7 separate regions of the Homo sapiens genome follow, and regions 1, 2, 4, 5, 6 and 7 are each linked to region 3. Evidence: promoter capture Hi-C in 16 types of primary human blood cells and fetal thymus (Javierre and others, 2016). All regions are on one chromosome and are shown on one strand. Each heading gives the region's core, a stretch centred on a gene start or on the middle of the fragment in contact. The rest is flanking DNA. Distances are from core to core; before and after follow the strand shown.

Region 1 (2,700 bases), core at 129-2,628, 410 kb before region 3:
TTGCAACAGATGCTAAGGGCTCATCAGTGATATTCACTATAGAAAGTCTTAAAGTGCACTAAGAATGGATGGGAGAAGAATCCAACAAGTCTGCATTTTAAAATGTTAAATTCAATTAATATTCTTAAAAATGTAAGCTGGATACATGGTTGAAATAGTAATTGGTACAGAAGGGTAAAACTTGAAAAGTAGATGAATTGAGCACACACAATTAACCTCTCTTTTTAAAAAAAAATATGCACTAAAATGGCAGAAAAGTAATTAAAATGGTAGGAACTAACAAAGATTAAGAATACACAAGTGAACACATACATTTTTCTATGACAGAAAGCAGGTGGAAGAGCAATTAACTTAGCAGTTCCAAAAAGTGCCCCTAAAGTAAAGTTCCTGCATTGAAGATACTCACAAGAAACATAATCTCTTTTAAGCGCAAGATCTGGAGGAACCAGATGTTTAAGAAGACTGAAGTCAGTTAAGGATGGAAAAAAGTTATTAGTTGGAAGTATGTGTAGAGGATAATTGAATTCTCTGTTCTTCTCATCACCCTACATAGATGGAAACATAACTCACAGCCAGAAAATAGAAAGTTTATTCTCTGGAGAAATTTAATGGGACTTTCTCTAGTCTTGGGGATCTAGGCACAGCTGAGCACAAGTGTGAGGTGTCAAACTGAAAATAGGGAGAGTAAGCAAACCTTTGCATTTTGCATGGTGAGACTTCTAATCCCTTTTCATGCAATACTCTTAGACTGTAGGACACAAAGTGTATGCCTGACCCCTAGTCTATCCCCATAGTGTATATTGTAGAATTCTAACCTGGAGAATATGAAAGCCCAAATGAAGACACATATTAATATTTGGCATCTCATAAGGTAATAGACTTATCCTAGCATGGTTATATTAGAATGAAGCCCTGCCATCAACAGGTACTGTTCGCTCACAGAGTTGATTGTCAGCATTTTGATATATCATCCTTCTAAAATACGAGAAGATAGCCAAGGCATTTGAGGAAATGCCTGCAACATAACATAGAAAGACCAAAACTACCACCATCGCTACCATCAAGAAAAAAAAAAGGAACAATAATATAGAAAGCAGAAGAAAGCCTTTGAAAATGTCTGGTTAATATTCCCAGAGAAAGAAAATCTAATAAAAGCTAATACTTATTTAGTATTTACTCTATGCTACTCATTGTTCTAAGTGCCTCATAATGCATTTATCCATTTAATCTAAATAGTAGCTGTATGAAGTATGTATTTATCCACTTAATCTAAATAGTAACTATATGAAGTACATATTCCTATTGTAAGATGAAGACTAGATTAGGACTTCAGTGCTTTTTACTAGCTATATTACCTTGGACAAGTTCTTAACTCCCCTTAGACTCACTTTCACTTTTAAAATGGATATATAATAATGATACTGCCTAATGCATTTTTAAAGAAAAGATTAATTATAAATGAGAGAAAATATTACATTTATAAATCTATGACAGGATGCCATGAAAAACATTCAGAGAACCAAAAACAACTCTTAAAAGTAAATATTTTTCAGTCATAAAGAAAAACTTATACATAAAACATTGAGTGATTAAATAAATTGTCCAAAAAATGGAATGAGAGGCAAAGAGAAAATAAGAAAGGAAAAATGGCTTATAGTCTTATAGAGTCAATCTAGGAGGTCTAATATTTAACTGAGATTTTCATTGAAGTGAGAATCCAGAAAACTCAGAGGAGAAATTATGAGTAAAACATACCAAGGAAATTCCTTTTAACAAATTGTTTTTGTGTAGAGATAGGTTCCCACTATGTTGCCCAGGGTGGTCTCAAACTCGGGGCCTCAAATAATCCTGCCTCAGCTTCCCAAAGTACTGGGATTGCAGGTGTGAGTCACCATGCCCAACCAAAATTTCTCAGAAATAAAATTGATAGTCTGAACATTAGCCAAGGGGTCTAGCACATGCCTGTAGTCCCAGCAACTTGGAAGGCTGAGGCAGAAGTAGCTCTCGAGTTAGAGCTTGCAGGGTGCTGTGATTGTGCCTGTGAATAGCCACTGCACTCCAGCCTGGGTAACACAGTGAGACATCATCTTAAAAAAAAAAGAAAAGTTAAACATGAACAGGGCATAGCGATATAACCAGATTAATCAATAAAGAGCCAGTACTAAGGTATTTTCAGAAGACCAGGGGAATTTTTTTCAATGCTCACAGAAAGAAAGAAAAAAAGGGGGGGAATCACATAAAAAGACATAGGAATCAGAATGGAATCAGTCTTCTGAACAGCAATTCTATATGCAGTCAATAAAAGGAGCAGTGCTTTTGAAATCTGAGGGAAAATTATTTTCAACCTAGAATGTTATGCCCAAACTATCAATCAAATAAAAAAAAAGAAAATAACAAAGCAAGCTCTCAAAAAGTTTTATTTCCTCTGTATCCATTTTTATGAAGGTACTGAGAGATGTGCATCAACAAAATAAGTGAGTAAACTAAGAAAGAAGAATGTACTGGATCTTATAAAAAAGGACCAACAAAGAAAAATATTTTTTAAAGTCCTAGGGTGACAGCCTATAGAGCAACCAGTATGAATGAAGTAGAGATCTGGGTGCAAGATCACCAAGAAATAAACATAATTGACAGGTATCTGATATATTTGAATATTTTGAGAAGAAAGAGATTCAAATTAGAGAATGTAAAGAAACTAAT
Region 2 (2,700 bases), core at 187-2,686, 360 kb before region 3:
CTGCTCTCTCTGTCCAGCGCGCCTTCTGTTACCAGGGTGTAGAAATTCTCCACGGAAGGTCTTAGTAGAAAGGGGAGATTGTTCTCTATTGAACAAATAACCTGTTGGTTATGTCCAGAGTCTGCATCTGAAACACTGAAAACTGCCACTGTGATCTCTGGTAAGTTTTCTGGGATGAGGCTGATGAAGAACGACATGGTGAGTTCAGGGGCATTGTCATTCACGTCCAGGACCCTGACGACTAAAGAGCATTTTCCTGATAGGCCTCCACCATCTGTAGCCTCAACATCCACGTCATAAGACTGAATTTCCTCAAAATCCAAAGCCTTTCTCAGCCGAATTTCTCCTGTGATTGCGTTTATTTCGAAGGGTTGGTTGACGTCATCGACTTGAAACAGGGCGTAAGATACCTTCCCAAACGATCCTGCATCTAAATCTCTGGCTGAGACGGTAATAACCAGAGAGCCGAGGGGGTTGTTCTCAGGGACTTGTGCTTCATAGAGCTCCTGAGCAAACTCGGGGACGTTGTCATTGATGTCCAAAACCTGGATCTGAATCTCGGAGGTCCCTGACCGGGGCGGAGACCCGCCATCCAGCGCGATCAGCGTTAGCCTGAGTTGGGGCTGCTCCTCGCGGTCCAACGGTTTGTCTAGCACCAGCTCCGGGAACTTCCTGCCTTCGCTGCGATTGCGGGTGAGAACGTGGAAGTGAGGGTTGGAGCTGATTGTGTACCTCTGAAGGCCGTTGCTGCCGGTGTCTAAATCGTGTGCCATTTTCAAAGGAAATATCTTTCCTGGCATAGTAATTTCTGATATTTTCAGGAGCATTTCTCTGGCAGGGAATTCCGGGGCGTGGTCATTTATATCTCTGACTCGCAAGGAAGCCTGAAAAAACTGCAAGGGGTTTTCCAGTAACACTTGGAAAGGTAGCACACACGGCTCAGTGGAGCCACACAGCTCCTCCCGGTCCAGTTTTTCATTTAGCAGTAAATCATGGGTCTGTGGATCAAACTGCAAATGTTGTCTGTTCCCTTTGAAAACAACCCGAGCGCCCCGCGAAGCCAGCTCCCCCACCCTCAGTCCCAGGTCCTTTGTCAAGTTGGCCACAAACGTGCCACTTTCTGTCTCCTCCAATACGGAATACTGAATCGATTCAGAACCCACCTCTCCCCAAAGCATCAATAAAATGAAGAAAGCCACTTGCCTTTTCTTGTTCTGTACTTTAGTTTGCATCATGTCTATTATGTCTGAATACGGAAGAAAAATCCTTTTCAGCTCCCAATCACCACATCTACCGTCGACCCTCTCGGATGTCTTTGCAGAGATTTTTAAATTCGTTCTTACAACTTGTCTGGCGACGACTGCCTTCCCGGACACATCTATCTCAGCTTTAGCTGTAAACGTGGTCTGTATTTTTACTTGGCTTCTGGATGAAACGGAGTCCACCGAGTCTGCAGAGCTTTCATTCACTCTCTTAGCTTGTACCGCCACCACGCGTTCAAACTAATAACTTCATGAGATGTTTTCAGGTCAATAGCATTTCAGAAATCTGAGCATTATAAAGACTTTTAAGTCGAGTCAGTGTTTCTCAAACTGAGTGCGTGGACCGCATGCATAAATAATTGCTTGCGAGCGTTGGTTTTTTTGTGTGTATGTTTTTGTTTTTAAGCCAATTCCTGGGTTCACTCCCCTCTAGAACTTGAATCAAATTCCCTGGTGGTGCTAATTAAGGAGAAAGATTGAAGTGCAGATTCTACACTTCAGTCTTTCTCCTTTGATGCTTCAGCAGTGCAATTTATCTCTGATGAACTATTTAATCTATTAGTCCAAGAGGTACACTATTTAATTGTCCCAACAAACAATGCAAAACAACGAAGTTTGTTAGCAACAATAATGGTAAAATAAACAATAAATTATCTAAATTATATGACTCATAAATGGCATGAAAAAAAAAACCTACTTTGTTATATAGTTATGCCTGCACAGTAAAAAGAACAATTAGGCTATTAGGAGGAAAACTGAGGCCAAGAAGTACGTATGATACATGTATCTAAGTAAATTAAAGTATTTAAAAGAGGGACTAGAAGCAATCAAGTAGTTGTCATAAGCATTTTAGGATTCTACTCCATTTTTGCATGGATAGAATTAGACATTGTTTTAACAGTCTTGTGCATTTTATTTTTTGATCAAATTCCCCTCTTACATTATTTAATCAAGGTCCAAATATATTACCGTGTTGTACAAACATGATGCAACACAGAAAACAAACATTCAAGAATCACCTTCACCGTCTTCTCACAGCAAAAAGAACACCAAGTCCAATAAATACAGGCCAAATTAAGGTACTGTTAAAACAGGTGAGTTACATTTGAGTGAATGCCATGGAATTCAATGATGGAATATTATGGCTATATCCATTCCCATCTCACTAGTTTCTACTCAGATACATTGGAACATGTATCTCTAAACAAACTGAAAATGTGTGAAATAGATTAGTGCACATAGAAGAGGTAAAATATGCCAAACAATTCAATTCATTTCAGATTAATTTCATATTTATTGAGAGGTGAAATCAATTGAGTTCAAACAAAGTTCACTTCAGGTAAGGGCCAAGGTGATAGAAGATTAAAAATCAAGATATTTTCAAATACATAAATGCTAGGCAAAACAAATAAGGCTAAATAAAATCTAAACTCTGAAT
Region 3 (2,700 bases), core at 195-2,694:
TCGATGGACACGCTGGTGGTGGCCCACAGTGAAGGCGAGCCCCCGTCCCGTGCGGTCACCACCAGCTCATAGGCTGACACGCTCTCGCGGTCCAGGGCGCTGTCCAGCACCAACGAGTAGTAATTCTTGAAGGTGGACACCAGCTTGAAAGGGACGTGGGGCGTCAGGGAGCAGGTGACATGTCCATTCGTACCAGAGTCGCGATCCGACACCGTGATGAGAGCAATGACAGTGCCCAGGGAAGCGTTCTCTGAGATGGGAAGTGAGAGAGACGTTATTGAGACTTCTGGTGTGTTATCATTGATGTCCACAAGTTTTAATGAAATTTTACAATGTCCTGACATTGAAGGGGTTCCTTTGTCAGTTGCAGTGACCTGAATCTCGTAGGACTTTGCTTCTTCATAATCTAATTTTCCCTTAGTTCTGATTTCCCCTGAGATGGGATCTATGGTAAACTTAGTCTGTATAGTGGAGGACACATCACTACCGAGTGAATACACAATCTCGCTGTTCGGTCCTTCATCTGCATCAGAAGCGTTTAACTTAACCACTAAGGTCCCATTTGCCGTATTCTCTAACAATTTTACTTTGTAAACTGATTGGGCAAAAGTTGGTTCATTGTCATTTACATCTAATACCTTAATAAGTATTTGAACGGTGCCCGTGAGCTCAGGTTTGCCCCCATCAGTAGCCACCAGTAACAAATTAACCTCAGCAGTTTCCTCTCTGTCCAGCGATTTCCCCAGCACGAGAGACAAAGATTCGCTTAGTTCATCATTTGCCTGTATATCTAGGAAGAAAAACTCACTGGAGCTGAGCTTGTAGGAGAGAAGAGCATTTACTCCTATATCTGCATCAGATGCTCCCTCTAGAGGAAACCGAGAATCAAGCAGCCTTGATTCGGGAAACCGGATAGTCTTTACTGTCATTGGAAATATTGGCGGGTTGTCGTTAATGTCCTTCACCTCCACTTCCACATGGAAAACCTGCAGCGGCCTGTCCACGATCACCTCCACGTGGATGCTACATTCCGCGCTCCGCCCGCACAGCTCCTCCCGGTCGATCCGAGAATTCACAAACAAAATGCCATTCTGCAGATTTACCTCCAGAAGGTCCCCGTGTCTTTTGGACGCCACCCGGAACAGGCGCGGCACCAGCTCCTCCAGCTCCAGCCCCAGGTCCTGCGCGATGCGGCCCACGAAGGTGCCGTGTTTGGCCTCCTCGGGGACGGAGTAGCGGAGCTGGCCGCTCCCCACCTCCCAGGCTGCGAGGAGCAGAAGCGAGAGCAGCCGTGTCCAGGCCCCTCGGCCCCTTCTGATAGAAGACGCCATTACCAATCCTCAATGTTTTGATCAAATTAGAAGAGCATGTTTTGCAAAAATTTAAATATTCTAGTCTCTGTTAAAGTCCTGCTGCTTCTCTTATTCCTCCGCTTCTCTGAAGTAACAAAGGGGCTCTGGGTATTTTCCTTCCTAGAGAACACTCTATGGTGGACAGCGACATCATGTGGCTAAAAGGAAGGCTCTACTGTTTATTCTGTAGATTTAAAACTAGTCGATTTTCTGGTTTAAGTTTACTCATAGCTTTCATCTTGGAAAAAAATAACTATTTTAAGCCCTAAAATATATTACCTTTTTACCCTTTTTTACTCTGGTTAAAAAACACACAACATAATATTTAAAATTACCATATTAACTATGATTAAATGTACATTTCAGTAATGTTAAGTATATTCACATTGTTACAAATTTTTCATCTTGGAAAACAGAAACTCTATACCCATTAGACAACAACTCCGCTTTTCACCGTCACTCCAGTCTCTGGTAACCACAGTCCTATTTTCTATTTCTATGAATTTCACTACTTTAGATATTTCGTGTAAGTGGACTCGTAAAGTATTTGTCTTTTTGTGACTGGCCTATTTCACTTAGCACAATGTCCTCAAGGTTCATCCATGTTGTAGCATGTGACAAGATTTATTTCCTTTTTAAGGCTGAATACTAGTCCATCGTATGTATACACCACGTTTTGTTTATTCATTCAAGCATCCGTGGATGGTTCCTCAAGGTTCATCCATATTGTAACATGTGACAGGACTTCTTTCCTTTTTAAGGCTGAATAATAGTCCAACATATGTATACACCACGTTTTGTTTATTCATTCAAGTATTCGTGGACATTTGAGTTGCTTCCATTTCTTGACTGTTGTGAACAGTGCTGCCATGAACATGGGTGTGCATATATTTCTTTGAGACCCTGCTTTCAATTCTTTTGGATATATTAGCATTTTTCACTATTTCTTCAAATGAAGAACATAGTAATCAAAGGTATTTTAGTCCATTGAAAATATATGTGTATATATACTGTTGTTTTGTGATTTAATTTTGATTTTTGAATTGTTTGCAAATGTTTTGAAATTAATAATTTATTTGTTTCTCATTTGGATAATGTACTATTACTTTAGAATATTCCTTTTCCATTACATTTAGACTTTTATGCAAGAACAATACAATCGATCTCTTTTTTTGTGTTAATTACTTGAGAATATCTTCTTTTGTTAATTTTTAGCTGATCCCTTCACAGTAAAAAAATGAAAATAGAATAAAGATAAGATGAGGATGAAATAAAATGAATCAAGGAGTGGGATAGCATACAAAATCCATAATAAAGGGTCACCTTCAGTTACTCTAACCATGTCACC
Region 4 (2,700 bases), core at 190-2,689, 500 kb before region 3:
AAAGTTTCTTCTCCTTTTGTGGGCAGGGGCACAGTGGGCTCTAGTGGGTTCCGGTGGGCACTTTTCTTTCTTTTTTGGACTGTAAGTCTGGGCTCTATGAATCATCACTTCAGCCCCTGATTGTTCCCAACCCAAGGTCCCGGGCAAACCTTTCTGGTTGATGTCAGGTCAAGCTGAGTCACATGTTCTCCAGACAGCCCAGGGACTAAGCACATTCCTTCCTCTTCCCAGCCCCTGAAAACCCTGGACCCCAGCCTCACACGGGGCACCCTGTTTAGGCCCGCCTCTCTGCTGACAGAGAACTTTCTTGTTTCGCTTATTAAACTTTCGCTCCAACCTCACCTTTGTGTCTTCTTGGAGGTAGGACAAAGAACTCTGGGTGTTATCTCAGACAAGGAGAGACTGTTACATCTTGGTGCATTGCTGAGACTACAACAAAACTATCATCAGGGTCTGTGGCCTGCTTTCTGAGCTCCACTGTCTACACTGTTCTTGGCTTCCTCCTAATGCCAGCACTTACATACAGACTTCTTGTTAATGATGTTTAAAAGGTGGACTGCTATCTTCCTGTTTCCCCAACCTCTTCAAGGTTGGTAGCATCACCAGTAGTGATGCTCTATTCCTTACATGAGGCTTAGTAGATTTTTCAAAATCAGTTCAGGCTGGCTTTAGTCTGCATGTTGAGAAGAAAAAATATCACAAGTGGGTAAGTAGCTTTGTAGATAATTGATGTCTCTTAACAATCATGCACATTCTGCATGTGAAAATAATGTCCCCAGAAAGGGCATTATTATTTCTTCCACTGGGAAGCCAGATAATTATGTATATAGCGAGTATTTCTACTGCAGCCTGAAGAAGTTTCACTGGGTCCTTCTCAACAACCTGGTCTCTCAGCAGACGTGAACTAGGGCATCTCTCTACATATCTTCTTTAATCATTGATTTACAAACAGATCTTTTGTGCATTTAGAAGAAGTGTGCTTTTCTGACTTTGGAGAAATAGTGGACTCACCTCTAGCCGGTGCTCAGGGTTTCTCATCTAGGTTCTCCACGACGTTGCCCACAAAAAAGCCTTCTTCAACTCCTTGGTACTGGACTCAGATGCTCATTTAGACAGGCAGAGGCAGCTCAGGAGGTTAGTTAGTCTTCCCTTGTGTCTGCAGCCTGCTGCGGCACCATGACTGTCTTCTGGTGAATGCATTATGGGATTTATTTATTATTATTATTTTTTCAGACGGAGTCTCACTTTATTGCCAGGCTGGAGTGCATTGGCACGATCTTGGCTCACTGCAACCTACGTCTCCCAGGTTCAAGTGATTCTCCTGCCTCAGCCTCCCAAGTAGCTAGGACTACAGCCACGCACCACCACACCCAGCTAATTTTTGTATTTTTAGTAGAGACGGGGTTTCACCATGTTGGCCAGGATGGTCTCGATATCTTGACCGCGTGATCAGCCTGCCTTGGCCTCCCAAAGTGCTGGGATTACAGGCGTGAGCCACTGCGCCCAGCTGGGATTTATTTTTCTACTTTCTGCTTCTGTTTCTTTGTTTGCCTCCCCTCTTCTCTTTGCCATCTGGAGTCAAAGCTGATCCAAGTCGATAAGACCCTAGCTCTATGTCCAAGCACTAGTGATTCTCCAGGTTGATTCTGTTCTGTGCCTGCAGTAGAGCTGGGCAGGAAGGCTCCTAGGTTCTGTGTTTTCCATGCTGGAGAAAAGATCTAAAGGCCTGGGAGAAGTTAAACATGTTTGGCAAGAATACATCATTGGTGATTTTCTGTGCTTCATATTCTATCACATATAGGATTTTATTGTTATTTATTTTTATTTTTGAGATGGAGTCTCACTCTGTCACCCAGGCTGGAGTGCAATGGCACGATCTCAGCTCGCTGCAACCTCCGCCTCCTGGGTTCAAGCGATTCTCCTGCCTCAGCCTCCCAAGTAGCGCCCACCACTACGCCCGGCTAATTTTTGCATTTTTAGTAGAGATGGGGTTTCACCGTGTTGGTCAGGCTAGGCTCAAACTCCCGATCTCAGGTGATCTGCCTGCCTTGGCCTCCCAAAGTGCTGGGATTACAGGCGTGAGCCACCACACCCAGCCCACATATAGAATTTTTTAAAAACAAATCCTGTTGGACCTCAGATTCACAGAATTGGATTATGATAGACTCTCATCATTAGTCCATACATGGCCTGCTTTATTTATTTACTTACCTAGCCAGTGTCAGATTTAAAATCCTCAATACTTGGTGTCATATCTCTGGCTCTGTCCTGTACTAGGTGTGTGACCTTAGTCAAGTTTTCTAACTCTGTGTATTGGTTTCTTCAACAGTAAAATGAGGATTATTACCTCACAGAGCTGTGTGAGAATTAAATGAGTTAATATATGCAGACTAGTTAATGCGGTGCCTGGTGTCTGGTAAACTGTGTACGTGTTGGCTTTTATATTATCTCTGGGTTTCCATCTATGATCCTTTGCCTTATACCCAAAATAAATTCTTTAGAATTTCCTTTAATGTGGGTCTACTAGTGACAAAGACTCTTCATTTTTGTTTTAGATTGTCTTTATTTCACTTTCATTCTTTTAAATTAATTTTTTCTAGTTTTGCATTTTTTAACTACTATTGAGGATGAATATTTTTCAGGGTGTTGCTTAGCTGTTTATGGTTCTTTTTTAAAAAATGAGTTCACCCAGCCTGGGCA
Region 5 (2,882 bases), core at 172-2,671, 450 kb before region 3:
TCTCTCTGTCCAGCGCCCCTTCTGTTACCAGCCTGTAGAAATTCTCAACAGAAGGTTTTAGCTTAAAAGGAACATCATCCTGAATTGAGCAAATCATTTTTCCATTTTCCCCAGAGTCTCGGTCTCTAATCCTAAACAGGGCCACTTCTGTCTCTGGAGAATTCTCGGGAATAGGGCTGGTAAGTGATGAAATACTTAGTTCCGGGAAGTTATCGTTAACATCCAGCACCTTAACAGAGACAGAGCATTTTCCAGAAAGTCCCCCGCCATCAGATGCCTCTATATCTAGATCATACGAAGACATTGTCTCAAAATCTAGTTTTTTAATTAGTCGAATTTCTCCTGAAAGGCTGCTTAGCTCAAAAGGTTTGTCTATCTCCTGAGAGCTGTAATAAAGGGAGTATGATATCTCTCCATTTGTCCCAGTGTCTAAATCCCTAGCAGAGACCTTGACAACTAGGGAGCCTACTGGGCTGTTCTCTGGGACCTGCACCTCGTAGAGCGCCTGCACAAACTCCGGGGCATTGTCATTGGCGTCCAAGACCAAGATGAGGATCTGGACGGTGCCAGATCGGGGTGGAGAGCCACCGTCCACCGCTGTCAAGGTTAATCTGAGCTCGGCCTGCTCCTCGCGATCCAGTTCTGTGTCCAGCACCAGCTCTGGGTATTTCCTGCCATCCCCTCGGGTGCGAGTGGAAACATGGAAATGAGAATTGGGAGAAATATTGTAGTTTTGAACATTATTGCTGCCCACGTCCAAGTCCCGAGCTTTTTTCAGAGGAAACACAGTCCCAAGGGAGCTAGTTTCTGGGATTTTCAGGGTCATTTCTCTTTCAGGAAACTCAGGAGAATGATCGTTTATGTCTGTCACTAGTAGTTCAGCTCGAAATACTTCCAAAGGTTTTTTCAGTAACACTTGGAAATGCATTATACAGGGCTCAGTAGGGCCACACAGCTTCTCCCGGTCCAGCTTCTCATTTAATATCAACTGCCCGGTCTGCAGATCAAGCTGCAAGCCTTGTTCGTTATCCTCAGAAACTACCCGGGCTCCCCGCTCGGCTAGCTCCCCCACTCCCAGCCCTAGGTCATTGGCCAGGTTGGCTACAAAAGAACCTCTCTCTGTTTCCTCCATCACAGAATAGCGACGGGGTTCCCAGCCTGCCAGAGTCACTTCCAGTAAAAGAAGGAGAATCAGGACTTGCCTTTGTTCGGGAAAGCGCTCCCCTGCAGGCTCCATCTTTACTTCTGTACACGCCCCTTTCAAGGAACCGGAGTCAGAGCTACTTCAGGGAGCGATGGGACAGAGGCAGTGATCGATCTGTGCGTTGATAACCTGTTCGGAAATGTAGGAGAATAGCATTCTCCGGAGACACTGGTCCGTGCTCTGCTAACAGGCTTTCCTCTTAGGCTGAAAGAGGTCTGAAGTAGCTAGTAGCATTTCATGGGCTTTTTCCTTTTCCTTTTTTTGAAGCCTTAGCCTGCAGCGCCACCATGCGTTGTCTTTGCTTCGAAACGAATTGCTACAATTGATCTATTCTCTATTCTATTAGGAGTTTGGAAATTGGGAGGAAATGATGTAATCACAATATCACGCAATGGTAATTATTAATTTCTTCATTTAAAGGAGTATTATTGGTCTCTATGTGCCAAATTATGAAATACATCAGTAAACAACCCAGACATGGTCCCCACCCTCCAGAGCCTGTAGTCTGGGTGTAGTGTTCTGAGGGAAATTGAGAAGTGAAAGAAGACATAATAGTGATCAGTCATCTTGTAATAATAATAACATAAAGCCACGTGATTTCTTAAAAATTTATCAGCAAAACAAAATGAATTCTTTAATTTCTTTCAAATTCTAGACAGCCTATGTACCAGAATTGTGCTCCCATTGGTTGGATTACATCAAGAAAAAGCTACACGTTAATTCCAGTGTGGTATCCTTTCTACATAAAGTCAGAGAGTTATGATTTTATGAAAATTTTAAACTGTGGAAAAATACATATGAAGGCACTTCCTATATCTCTTACTTTGCTTTTTCTTTTTTTTCTTTTCATTTTTCCTTTTTTTTTTTTTGAGATGGGGTCTTGCTCTGTTGTCCAGGAGGGAGTGCAGTGGCACAATCACTGCTCATTGCAGCCTTGACTACCCAGGCTCAAGCAATCCCCCCACCTCAGCAACTGTAGCTGGGACCACAGTTGCGCATCACCATGCCTGGCTAATGTTTTAATTATTTGTAAAGATGAGGTCTTGCTATGTTGCCCGGGCTGGTCTCAAATTTCCGAGCTCAAGCAATCCTCCTGCCTCAGCCTCCCAAAGTGCTGGGGTTATAGGCATGAGCTGCTGTACCCAGCCCTGCCTTGTCTCTCTCGTATTTATTATCTGACGTAGTATAGATGTACTTATTTAGTTGTTTCCTTTCTGTTTCAACCTCACATGTTAGAACTTCATTTTGTTCACTGCTGCATCCCCAATATCTAAAATAATCCCTGGCACATGGTACGTGCTCAATAAATATTTGTTAAATGGATCCATTAATAAATCACAATTAATTTAAACATTCTGACAGATAGGTTCTCCTCCTACTGTAGAAATTCCCTCTTCTTCTGGGATTCAAGTTCATTATATAAGATGGATAAACAAAGACAACATGTTCATAAGGTAGCTATTTCCTATGCCCTTTAAATAGTAATGTGAAATAACTCAGAATGACCTAAAATGTCATTTCATTAAGTGGCAAAACAACTTAGCTACCCATAAGCAAGGGATATATTATATGACAGAAAGAAAGAACATAACAAGATTATGATGACCCTAAAGATAAGGATTATGTCTCTTTTAGACACACATTTTTCATTGTCAAGGTTTTTTTTTTACAGTAATGT
Region 6 (2,700 bases), core at 176-2,675, 470 kb before region 3:
AGCATCATTGGAATGTGTGGATAAGTGGAACTCAGGAACTATTGAGTTCCAAGAACAACTTGCTACACCTGTGACCCAGGGTTAGTAGGCCACTTCTACTGTTGCTACCACCTCTCAATACCCACACAGTTGCTCCTAGATACAGGAACACTCAATCTGGCTGTTGCTCCTGGTGACACTGGAATGCTGAACCTTCCTTCCACAGCTACTTCTCAACCCTTTGCTTGTACAACCAAATGCAGCAGTATAGCAGATGCTATTGATGCCTGTCCTATATTCCCTTGGCCCACCTCAGAGTTTACCTGCAGTTCAATGAAAACTTTTTAGCAAGCTTACAGCAGCTTCTCTTGTGATATGGTTTGGCTGTGTCCCCACTCAAATCTCATCTTGAATTGTACTCCCATAATTCCCACGTGTTGTGGGAGGGACCTGGTGGGAGATAATTGAATCATGAGGGCAGTTTCCCTCCTACTGTTCTGGTCGTAGTGAATAAGTCTCATGAGATCTGATGGTTTTATCAGGGATTTCCACTTTTGCATCTCTCTCATTTTCTCTTGCCGCTGCCATGTAGGAAGTGCATTTCACCTACTGCCATGATTCTGAGGCCTCCCTAGCCATGTGGAACTGTAAGTCCAATTAAACCTCTTTTGCTCCCTAGTTTCAGGTATGTCTTTATCAACAGTGTGAAAATTGACTAATACATCATGTCAAGCACTTTTGTCTTTCTACTTCTCTTCCTGGGAGGGATTTCTCTGATGCCATAGGAGCTTGCTCTGCCCATTCACATTGCAATCTGGAATTTCCAGAAATTTAATGCCCTTAGGGTTAACACTCAATGAAAGATGGAAGGTGAGATCAGTCTACCACTAACTTTCTGGTTCTTTGATGGGACAATTCTACAGTATGTTCCACACAGTTCCTCATAGAGTTCCCTAGCAAGATTGAGGCCCATGTATTCACAATGGTAATCTGCTTATTAAAATAATAATTTTTAATTTATTGATGTTTCTCCCTTCTTTTTCTCAGTTTCCACACTTCCTCACTGGTGCTTCTCTAGATAACTTTTTAAATAAATTAATTGCACCTAAGTCCTTGTCTCTAGGTCTGCTTTTGGGAGAACTCAACAAAGATAGCAACTTAGAAAGCAAATTCTAAGGATGGGATTCTGAACTTGAATTACTTGCTGGTCACATGGCAGCAATCCAATTCTGGTAGAAAGTGGGGTTGTGATAATCCCTGTCATGCTGTAGCATCCCACTTACTAAGATTCTCACCTGTGGAGGATTGAAATGAGCAACAGGTATAACTACTGGCTTATGCAATAGCTTCTGCACATGACACAAATGGAAAAAATTGTAATTGAAAGGATTGTGAAGTTTGCTTCTTTTTTCTACTGACCATAAGCCCTGAATATATAGCATGATTAGCTCAAATTATCCACCTATCAATTTAGAGAACACTGTGAAAGCCAAAGGCTTTCCATGGAAAAATTTTAAAAGACATCTCTTTTCTACAGCTGGAGGGCTAGATGTACTGAAAATCAGGCTCAGTATTTGAATGTATTAGTGCCAGAGCTACAAAGCAGACTGAAAACACAACGATCTAAGTTTTCTTTGTTAAAGTTAGAATCCTGATAGGAAAGAAATATTCCACATACTCTGAGTCCTGGGATGAGGACATTTGGTTGGATGTACTTGAGATACTTATATTCTCAGATTCCCTTGAACTCTTTCTAGCCATGGATCCTCCTCCTTTCTAGGGAAATAAAGCCTTTCATTGCTTGGAGATAATGTAATGCCTTCATCTGATATTAATGCCTTACAAGATGAAACTTACCCTATTCAAGACCTGTCCCCACTGCTTTTATATCTATAACTAAGGTTAAATAATGACGTGAGCTGGAAAGTACAATTCCTGCTCATGAGAAAAATAAATCCTATTCATTAGAAAATAAAATTTAGGCCAGGCACAGTGGCTTATGCCTGTAATCCCATCACTTTGGGAAGCCGAGGCAGGCAGCTCACAAGGTCTGGAGATCGAGACCATCCTGGCCAACATGGTGAAACCCTGTCTCTACTAAAAATACAAAAAAATTAGCTGAGCATGGTGGCATGCACCTGCAGTCCCAGCTACTCAGGAGGCTGAGGCAGGAGAATTGCTTGAACCCGAGAGGTGGAGGTTGCAGTGAGCTCAGATCGTGCCACTGCACTCCAGCCTGGTGAGAGAGCGAGACTCCGTCAAAAAAAAGAAAAGAAAAGAAAATTTAAAAAAATTATATTCACTAAAGAAACTACAAGGCATGGCTAATATGTACCAGCAGAAACATGGGGATTATGCTTGGAAATTAATATTGAACATAAATGTGTGTGTGTGTGTGTGTAATATGCTGCTGGATAGAGGAGTGTTTAGGGTACAAAGGTACTCTCTCTTGACTTCAGATTTGTACTTCAGAATTGCCTCCTGGCAATGACACCTATGATAAGAACTAATACATTGCTGGGTTGGCCTCTTGAAGCTTGGGCATAATGATGGACTACAATAAACGAGTTGGAGTTACCAGAACTACCTTGGAGAGTACTGAAGGGGTCAGAAGCGTCAAACATATTAGAGTGGATTTATTAGATGACACTAGAAAAGTCATCTGCAGAGTCTTTTCTTTGGGAGAGTCCATAGATTTTCATACATTTGTATGTATTTATT
Region 7 (2,700 bases), core at 132-2,631, 330 kb before region 3:
TGTGGTCAAAGAACATACTCTAAGTAGTTTCAATTTTTTTCCCCCCCAAGAAGGAGTTTGCTCTGTCGCCCAGGCTGGAGTGCAGTGGCACGATCTCAGCTCACTGAAACCTCCACCTGACGGTTTCAAGCAATTTTCCTGCCTCAGCCTCCCGAGTAGCTGGGATTACAGGTGCCTGCCACCATACCCTGCTAATTTTTGTATTTTTAGTAGAGACGGGGTTTCACCATATTGGCCAGGCTGGTCTCGAACTCCTGACCTTGTGATCTGCCCGTCTCTGCCTCCTGAACTGCTGGGATTACAGGTGTTAGCCACTGTGCCTGGCCTCAATTCTTTTTTAAATATTTGAGACTTCATTCATGACAAAGAACATGAACAATTTTTATATATCCCACATGCATATAAGAAGAATGTGTATGCTCCAGTGTGCTATGCATGTCAATTTATTTGAATATGATGTTCGTGTGGTTCGGATCTTCAACATTTTTTGTATGTGTGTGTTTTTTCTTCTTATTCTAACAGGAATTGAGAGAGTTGTATTCAATCTCCCTGTGTAATTGGGTTTGTCTACTTTGTATTTGTATTCTATCAACTTTATATATTTTGTAGTTATCTAATTGGGATGTATTCAGTCTTAAAACTAACATATTTCTGGTATATTTACTTCTTTATGATTATAAAAAAACTTCTCTTTATCTCTAGTAATGTATCTTTCCTTAAAGTCTCTTTTGTCTTATGTAAATACAGCTACCTAGATTTATTTTGGCTAGTGTTTATATTACTATATACCTTATCCAATTCTTTTAAACCTTCACTCTTTCTGTGTTCACACACACACAATTTGATAGCATAGAGTTGAGTTTTTCTTTAATCTAGTCTGACAATTTTTGTTGTTTAATTGGATTATTTAATCCAAATAAAATTAATACAATATCTGATATATTTCCATTTATGCTTACCATCTAATTACTTTTCTATTTGTCACTAAAGTTTAATTTTTCTTTTTGATTATTCAGATATTTTTAATTTTTCTTCCTTCAATTAGTGTTTTATTACTTTGAGGATTATCCAATAAATTACAGCATGCATCTTCAATATACAAGAATCTAACACACGTTAGTAATTTTACTACTTCCATGATAATGCTTACAGCCTTAACACTTTTTAACTCTATTTATACCTTTGCCTTTTACATTATTGTTGTTATAAATTTAAATTTTACATATAATTTAAATCCTTTAAGAAACTAGTATTAATATTATTGCCTTGTATAATCAATATTCAATCAACATTCATGTACATTGACCTTTCTTATTGCTCTTCATTTATTCCTGCAATTCTGTGATTTCTTTTGGATTGTTTTCCTTCTGCCTAATGCATTTCATTAAAAGCATTTCTTGGCCAGATGCAGTAGCTCATGCCTGTAATCCCAACACCTTCAGAGGCCAAGGCGGGTGGATCCCTTGAGGTCAGGAGTTCGAGACCAGCCTGGCTAACATGGTGAAACCCTGTCTCTACTAAAAATACAAAAATTAGCCAGGCGTGGCGGCACATGTCTGTAATCCCCTCTACTCAGGAGGCTGAGATGGGGAGAATAGCTTGGACCCAGGAGGTGGAGATTGCAGTGAGCCGAGATTGTGCCACTGCACTCCAGCCTAGACAACAGAGTGAGACTCTGTCTCGAAAAAAAAAAAAAAAGTATTTCTTTTAGTGCAGATGTGACTGTCGTTAATTCCCTTCATTTTTGTCTGAAAACTGCATTCATTTTTGAAGGATATGTTTGCTGGCAATAGAATTCTAACCTGGTAGTAATTTTCTTTCAGGACTTTAAAGATGTCATTCCTTTGTCTTTTGATTTCCTGATTTATGTTGAAAAGTCAGCTCTCCATTTTACTGATGCTCCTTTAACAGGAATGTTTTATTTCTTACATGGTTGGTTCTTAAATTATCTCTTTGACTTTGGTCTTGAGATGCTTTCCTATGATATGCCTAATTAGGCTTTGTTTTTATTTAGCCTGTTATTATTTATTTCTTGAATATCTTGAAGGATTAAGGATTTTCACCAGTTTTGGAAAATTCTTTATCATTATCTCTTCAAATATTGCCTCATGCTTGTTCTCTCTTTCAGTATGTTAGAGTTTTTAAAAATTACATTCCACACATCACTAATGTTCTTTTCTGTATATTTTATTATTTTATTCTCTGTGCTTATATTTGGATGTTAATATTGAATTGTCTTGCATCCACTAATCCTGTATCATTTTATGACTATGACATTAAACCATTTAAATAGTTTTAATTTCAGATAATATAATTTTTCAGTTCTAGAATTAACTTTCACTTTTAAAGTTCAATTCTCCAGTGAAATTATCTCCTTATTTTCTCTATTGTTCTTTATTTTTAACATATTAGTCTTACTTATTTTAATATCATTCAGTTAATTTTAATATCTGAATCATTTATGGGTAATTTTTATTGTCTTTTTTTTCTCTCGGTTTTATTCATGTATCCAGTTTTTGGTGTGTGTACTTAGGAATTTTTTATTGAATGTTGAATATTTACATAAAAAGCTATCCAAGGTTAAGATATTATCTTCCTCCAACAAGAGTTCACCTTTTCCACTGTTAACTTGATAGAGTTCTGTCTAAACAAATCATCTCAACTGAAACAGGCACTGGGCTTTGTCAAGGTTCTTTGCAG

The links. Contacts are between HindIII fragments. The CHiCAGO score rates a contact against its expected background, and 5 or more counts as called.
Region 1: a contact is called between a fragment that was not itself captured here and the fragment with the promoter of PCDHA2 in region 3, in 7 of 17 cell types (M1 macrophages, erythroblasts, M2 macrophages and 4 more). The highest score is 10.3, in M1 macrophages.
Region 2: the fragment with the promoter of PCDHB6 here is called in contact with the fragment with the promoter of PCDHA2 in region 3 in 13 of 17 cell types (M1 macrophages, M2 macrophages, M0 macrophages and 10 more); the score reaches 23.7 in M1 macrophages.
Region 4: a contact is called between a fragment that was not itself captured here and the fragment with the promoter of PCDHA2 in region 3, in 5 of 17 cell types (erythroblasts, M2 macrophages, megakaryocytes and 2 more). The highest score is 10.4, in erythroblasts.
Region 5: the fragment with the promoter of PCDHB15 here is called in contact with the fragment with the promoter of PCDHA2 in region 3 in 13 of 17 cell types (M2 macrophages, M1 macrophages, M0 macrophages and 10 more); the score reaches 18.6 in M2 macrophages.
Region 6: a fragment that was not itself captured here is called in contact with the fragment with the promoter of PCDHA2 in region 3 in 5 of 17 cell types (M1 macrophages, endothelial precursors, erythroblasts and 2 more); the score reaches 7.2 in M1 macrophages.
Region 7: a fragment that was not itself captured here is called in contact with the fragment with the promoter of PCDHA2 in region 3 in 4 of 17 cell types (erythroblasts, neutrophils, M1 macrophages and 1 more); the score reaches 6.1 in erythroblasts.

Annotation. Positions count from the first base shown.
Region 1 is chr5:141,204,946-141,207,645 of GRCh38, reverse strand. It overlaps PCDHB@. Among named protein-coding and RNA genes, the nearest start is that of PCDHB12, 2.4 kb to the left of the region's middle. The HindIII fragment of the contact is 2,869 bases long and covers 1-2,700 here.
Region 2 is chr5:141,148,793-141,151,492 of GRCh38, reverse strand. It overlaps PCDHB6 (protocadherin beta 6), which reads right to left and starts at 1,436. Exons shown (of 1, transcript NM_018939.4): 1 at 1-1,436. The coding sequence starts at 1,235. It also overlaps PCDHB@. The HindIII fragment of the contact is 6,099 bases long and covers 1-2,700 here.
Region 3 is chr5:140,793,596-140,796,295 of GRCh38, reverse strand. PCDHA2 (protocadherin alpha 2) reads right to left here and starts at 1,444. Exons shown (of 4, transcript NM_018905.3): 1 at 1-1,444. The coding sequence starts at 1,331. All of the region lies in intron 1 of PCDHA1 (protocadherin alpha 1), which reads right to left. It also overlaps PCDHA@. The HindIII fragment of the contact is 8,329 bases long and covers 1-2,700 here.
Region 4 is chr5:141,295,703-141,298,402 of GRCh38, reverse strand. No RefSeq gene overlaps it. Among named protein-coding and RNA genes, the nearest start is that of SLC25A2, 7.0 kb to the left of the region's middle. The HindIII fragment of the contact is 7,402 bases long and covers 1-2,700 here.
Region 5 is chr5:141,243,934-141,246,815 of GRCh38, reverse strand. PCDHB15 (protocadherin beta 15) reads right to left here and starts at 1,421. Exons shown (of 1, transcript NM_018935.4): 1 at 1-1,421. The coding sequence starts at 1,237. It also overlaps PCDHB@ and the pseudogene PCDHB19P. The HindIII fragment of the contact is 5,789 bases long and covers 1-2,882 here.
Region 6 is chr5:141,263,944-141,266,643 of GRCh38, reverse strand. The region is part of intron 1 of LOC105378199 (a long non-coding RNA gene); the gene reads left to right. Among named protein-coding and RNA genes, the nearest start is that of PCDHB15, 20 kb to the right of the region's middle. The HindIII fragment of the contact is 2,184 bases long and covers 334-2,517 here.
Region 7 is chr5:141,127,776-141,130,475 of GRCh38, reverse strand. It overlaps PCDHB@. Among named protein-coding and RNA genes, the nearest start is that of PCDHB5, 6.1 kb to the left of the region's middle. The HindIII fragment of the contact is 3,190 bases long and covers 1-2,700 here.